Linked DNA regions of Homo sapiens: region 1 is linked to region 2. The links are contacts of gene promoters, found by promoter capture Hi-C in blood cells and fetal thymus (Javierre and others, 2016). All regions are on one chromosome and are shown on one strand. Each heading gives the region's core, a stretch centred on a gene start or on the middle of the fragment in contact. The rest is flanking DNA. Distances are from core to core; before and after follow the strand shown.

The links. The method cuts DNA at HindIII sites, captures the fragments that hold promoters and counts their contacts. A CHiCAGO score of 5 or more calls a contact.
Region 1: a fragment that was not itself captured here is called in contact with the fragment with the promoter of UBE4A in region 2 in 1 of 17 cell types (activated CD4 T cells); the score reaches 5.1 in activated CD4 T cells.

The regions. Positions count from the first base shown.
Region 1 is chr11:118,283,101-118,286,250 of GRCh38, reverse strand. No RefSeq gene overlaps it. Among named protein-coding and RNA genes, the nearest start is that of CD3E, 20 kb to the left of the region's middle. The HindIII fragment of the contact is 1,372 bases long and covers 957-2,328 here.
Region 2 is chr11:118,358,206-118,361,262 of GRCh38, reverse strand. It overlaps UBE4A (ubiquitination factor E4A), which reads right to left and starts at 1,663. Exons shown (of 20, transcript NM_001204077.2): 1 at 1,589-1,663. RefSeq lists an enhancer at 1,657-1,726. The HindIII fragment of the contact is 13,441 bases long and covers 520-3,057 here.

The DNA.
Region 1 (3,150 bases), core at 393-2,892, 75 kb after region 2:
ACTTCCTTCACTGAAGTCTTGAACCCCTCAAAGTCATCCATGAGGGTTGGGATCAACCTCTTCCGAACTCCTGCTAAAGTTAATATTTTGACCTTCTCTCATGAATCATGAATGTTCTTAAATGGCATCTAGAATGGTGAATCCTTGGCAGAAGTTTTTCAGTTTCCTTTTCCCAGATCCATCCCACTATCTATGATTGTTATAGCCTTAAAAAATGTAGTTCTTAAATAATAAGACTTGAAAGTCAGAATTACTCTTTGATCCATAGGCTGCAGAATAGATGTTGTGTTGGTAGGCATGAAAACAGCAGTAATTTCTCTTTGTACATTTCCATCAGAGCTCTTTGGTGACAAGGTGCATTGTCAATGAGCAATAATATTTTAAAAAATAATCTTTTTTAGGGGGGCAGTAAGTCTCAACAGTGGGCTTAAAATATTCAGTAAACCGGCTGGGTGCGGTGGTTCATGCCTGTAATCCCAGCACTTTGGGAGGCCGAGGCGGGCGGATCACAAGGTCAGGAGATCTAGACCATCCTGGCTAACATGGTGAAACCCCATCTCTACTAAAAATACAAAAAATTAGCCAGGTGTGGTGGCAGGTGCCTGTAGTCCCAGCTACTCGGGAGGCTGAGGCAGGAGAATGGTGTGAACCCGGGAGGCGGAGCTTGCAGTGAGCCAAGATCACACCACTGCACTCCAGCTTGGGCGACAGAGCAAGACTCTGTCTCAAAAAAAGAAAAAGACAAAACAAAACAAAACAAAAAAACAAAAAACCATGCTGGAAACAGATGTGCTGTCATCCAGGCTTTGTTGTTCCATTTATAGAGCTCAGGCAGAGTAGATTTAACATCATTCTTAAGGGCCCTAGGATTTTTAGAATGGTAAATGATAAATTGGCTTCATAAAGTCACCAGCTGCATTAGCCACTAACAAGAGACTCAGCCTGTCTTTGAAGCTTTGAAGCCAGGCATTGACTTCTCCTCTAGAGCTATGAAAGTCTTAGATGACATCTTCTTCCAGCGTAAGGCTGTTTTGTCTACATTTAATTTTTTTTTAACTTAAAAAGATTTGATGGCTGGGCATGGTGGCTCATGCCTGTAATCCCAGCACTTTGGGAGGCCGAGGCATACGGGTCACCCGAGGTCAGGAGTTCGAGACCAGCCTGACCAACATGGTGAAACTCTGTCTCTACTAAAAATACAAAAAAAAAAAAAAAATTAGCTGGGCATGGTGGTGCATGCCTGTAATCTCAGCTACTTGGGAGGCTGAGGCAGGAGAATTGCTTGAACCTGGGAGGTGGAGGTTGCAGTGAGCCAAGATTGTGCCACTGCACTCCAGTCTGGATGACAGAATGAGACTCTGTCTCAAAAAAAAAAAAATTGAGAAAGGATCTTGCTTTCTTGCCCATACTGGAGTGCGGTGGCACAATCATAGCTGGCTGCATCCTCAAACTCCTGTACTCAAGTGATCCTCCCATCCCAGCCTTCTGAGTAGCTGGGACTAGAGATGTGCACCACCATGCCCAGTTTTCTTTCTTGTTTTTTTTTGTTTTTGTTTTTGTTTTAAGATGGGATCTCACTCTGTTGCCCAGGCTGGAGTACAGTGGCACAATCATAGCTCACTGCAGCCTCCTGGGACTCCTGGGTTCAAGCCATTCTCCTGCCTCAGCCTCTCGAGTAGCTGGGACTACAGGTGTATGCCACCATGCCCAGCTAATTTTTTATTTTTTTGTAGAGATGGGGTGTCACTGTGTTTCCCAGGCTGTTCTCGAACTCCTGGCCTTAAGTGATCCTCCCGCTTCAGCCTCCCAAAGTGCTGGGATTACAAGTGTGAACCCCTGCACCTGACTACATTGAAAATCTGTTGTTTAGTGTAGCCACCTTCATCAATTACCTTACTTAGATCTACTGAATAACTTGCTGCAGCTTCTACATCAGCACTTGTTGGTCTACCTTGTACTTTTATGTTATAGAGATGGCTTCTTTCCTTAAACCTCATGAACCAACCTCTGCTAGCTGCAAACTTTTCTTCTGCAGCTTCCTCACCTCTCTCAGGCTTCATAGAATTGAACAGAGTCAGGGCCCTGCCCTGGATTAGGCTTTGACTTAAGGAAAGGTTGTGGTTGGTTTGATCTTCTATCCAGACCACTCAAACTTTCTCCATATCAGCAACAAAGCTGTTTTGCTTTCTTATCATTCATGTATTCGAGTAGCACTTTCAATTTCTTTTAAAAACTTTTCCTTTGCATTCACAACTTGGCTAGCTGTTTGGTGCGAGAGGCCGAGCTTTCTGCCTATCTCTGCTTTCCATATGCCTTCCTCACTAAGCTTACTCATGTCTAGTTTTTGATTTAAAGTGAGAGACATGCGACTGCCTTTCACTTGAACACTTAGAGGCCATTGTAGGGTTCACCTGGCCTGATTTCAATATTGCTGTGTCTCAGGGAATAGGGAGGCCTGAGAATAGAGAGAGAGATGGGGGACTGGCTGGTCTGTGGAGCAGTCAGAACACGCACAACATTTTCTGATTAAGTTTGCCATCATGTATGGGCATGGTTTGTTGTGCCCCAAAACATCTACTACTGTAACACCGAAGATCACGATCAAAGGTCACCACGACATATAGAATAATAATAAACAAGCTTGAAATGTTGTGAGAATTACTAAAACATGACACAGAGACACAAAGTGAGCACATGCTGTTGGAAAATGATTTGCTCTACATGGGGTTGTCACAAACCTTCAATTTGTAAAAAACACAATACCTGCAAAGTGCAATAAAGTGAAGTGCAATAAAATGAGGTCTGCCTATACAGCATAAAGCAGTAGATGAGTCACAAAAATAATTTAACACCCTCGTAGCAGTGTATCCTTAATGCCCAGATTGTAGGTTCAAACACCATTTCCCACTAAAAGAAATCAGGGATCCTTGAAGAATTGCGGATGATTTTAAGTCTATGGCAAGAAGTGTTCAAGATGAGCCTGGAACATCTCGTCATATGGGTCAAAAGGACTGTCACATGAGGAATTACCTTGGTGCAATGATAACCTTCTAACATATTACATAACAAGCTATCCCAGAGGTCACAGAACAGAATGGCTCACAGACAAAATTACGATCCTGAATCACTTGGTTTATCAACTCAATTAAA
Region 2 (3,057 bases), core at 414-2,913:
AGATCACTTGAAGTCAGGAGTTTGAGACCAGCCTGGCCAATGTGGTGAAACCCCGTCTCCACTAAAAGCGATTACAGGCGCATACCACCACACCTTAGCCAGGCTGTAATCCCACTACTTGGGAGGCTGAGGCAGGAGAATCACTTTTAAACTGGGAGATGGAGGTTGCCGTGAGCTGAGATCGTGCCACTGCACTCCAGAGCAGAGCCTGGGTGACAGAGCCAGACTCTGTCTCAAAAAAAAAAAAAAAAAAATACACACACACACACACACACATATATACATACATATATGTATGTATTTTTTTTCCTATTTTCAACTGCCATACAGAGATACAACACTATCCTGTTGTCAGACACTTTGGGATGGTACAGCTACCAACCTTAGAAGCTTTTGGATTTGATTCTTTTAAAATATATCCTCCTTGAAAACAAGTTTCACTCTGATACACTTGCTGCAAAGATCTATATCTATAATAGCTGTCCTACAAAATTCTGTCACTTCCTCCTAATACAAGCTTTTGTTTATGAATAGTACCACTAATCCTTTAAGACCACTGTCAGCTCTCATGAACACACAAGTGTGTTAACATCAGACTTGGTATTGTTTTTCAACAGAAATATCTGGAACACTTTGTAAAACTGGGATCGTCAAAATCAAGCTCTATCAAATCATACTCCCATAAGGTCTGTGTCCTGGCAAATAATACATATATCAATATAAAATAGAAATTAAAATATCAATTTAAAATAGAAATTAAGAAACAATTTTCGTTGTCGTATGTTTCACCTAACACTATCAGGCCATGCTAATGTGGCAACAAATTCCATCAACACATCTATCTGCAGCCTAGAAGGATCTCAAGTCAAAAAGCAGACAGCAGTCCTTCTTGGATCCCATTTTATCGCAGGTGGGCTTCCACGTGAGACCAAAACAGTAAATGACAGCGAGACTAAACACATGCTTGCTGTCAGGGCATAAAACTGATCCTAAAAGGAAGGCTCATCAAATATAAGGTCATGAGGCATGGTCACTCAATTTTAGAAGTGTCTTCTAAACCCAAGGAAACATGAAGCAGAGTGCCCCAAGAGTTATCTGTGGTGAACTCATCACCTGCCTTAAGAATTATCAACACCCTGACGTATGCATTGAACTGGTTTGCTTACGACTCACGATTAATCTTATCTTCTTGGCATCTGCCTATTTGTTATCTACTCTTTATATTTTATCCTTCCATGCTCCATAAGGGATTCGCGGGAAGGAGGGAGATCCACCCGCCCGGGGCACGTTCTAGAGAAAGTTAAGTCAAAAGATAATGCAATGATAGCGCTCCGGCCTCTTCCAGGAGGGGCTTGGCAAAGATGGGGACAGAAATGTACAAAGAGACATCAGAAGCTGGGGCACTGTAAGGGGTTCCAAATCAGACAGGGTCGAAGTTCAAGAAGGAGAAGGTCCCTGGTTAGCAAAGCATAGGAGAAGGAATTTGGAGAAGATAAGAGTGAACAGGCTTGAAGTGGCATTGGACCAGCAGAAAATATCACAACGCAAAGTCAACGACCCCGTCCCCTGAAGCTATTGCCTGTCTTACCAGAGCCTGAAGTGCCAGCAGCGACGACACGACAGAATCTCAGCGGCCGAAGGGTTCCCACTTCCGACTCAGCACAGCAACCGGAAGTTACGTCATCAACAAGCGCCGGGGCATGTGGAAGTTCATCTCCGCGCCGGAAGCACGGTGTGCAGGCTCACCGGGGGGAACGGCGCGCAAATAGTCCTACAGCGCATGCGCTAGCTTGTTAGGGGCGGGCTGGAGGCGGGCAGGAAGTGGCAAGAAGTGGCCTTGGCATCGGATTGTGGGGGCTGGAGTTGGCCCACCTGGCAGTGCGCTTTGGAGTATAGAATATGAGGCTGGGTTTTGGAAATCAGCGTACCGAGGGCAGATAAAACTCTGTGATCCCTGGCTCTGCTCGCAACCTCTGTTGGGGGTCTGCTCTCTTATTTTCCCACCAGTCCTAGACCTTTTTGAAGCAGCTTCTGTTACTCTCTATTATTCAAAGGGATAACACTAACAGCAATAACAACTACAAGTTTGTTATTGTTGTGCTGTCTTTGGAGCAATCTTTGGAGTGTGCTATCTTTGATTGGATTTCAGTTTTCTTATCTGTAAAGTGGAGACAGTATACATCCTACAAGGTTGTTTTGAGATACACATAGATGGCCAGGCACAGTGGCTCACGCCTTGTAGTCCCAGCACTTTGGGAGGCTGAGACGGGCGGGTCACGAGGGCAAGAGATCGGGATACACATAAATAATAGAAGCAGCATAATTTTCAAGAGTTAAAAGCGCTGTGCAAGTGAAAATTCACAGATTGAGAGAAAATAGTTGCAACTCATATATCTGATAAAGGATTCATCTCTAGAATATGTAAAGAACTACAAGAACGAAAAACCCCCAAACAGTTCAGTTCAAAAAAGGGCAAAGGACTTGAATAGACATTTCTCCAAAGAAGATACATTCCAAGAGAATGACTATCCACTTGGTATCTGTGGGGGATTTGTTTCAGGACCCCCTTGGGTACCAAAATCCAAGGATGCTCAAGTTCCTTACATAAAATGATGCAGTATTTGCATATAACCTATGCACATCCTCCTGTGTCATCCTAGAGATGACTAAGTCATCTCTAGATCACTTATAATACCTAATACAACATAAATCTAAATAGTGTTGTATTGTTTAGGGAATAATGACAAAAAGTCTGTACATGTTCAATACAGATGAAATTTGTTTTGGAATATTTCCAATTCATGGTTGGTTGAAGCCACAGATGCAGAGCCCACAGATATGGAAGGCCAACTGTACAAATGGTGGATAAGCATATGAAAGAGTGCTCAACACCACTAGTCTTTAGGGAAATGAAAAAAAAAATCATGAGATACCACTTAATACCTACTAGGATGGCTACTATAAAAAAAAAGGAAAGTAATTGTTGGCAGATGTGGAGAAATTGAAACCGTATGCGTTGCTGATGGCAATGTTAAATAGTCCAGACTTTTTGGAAAA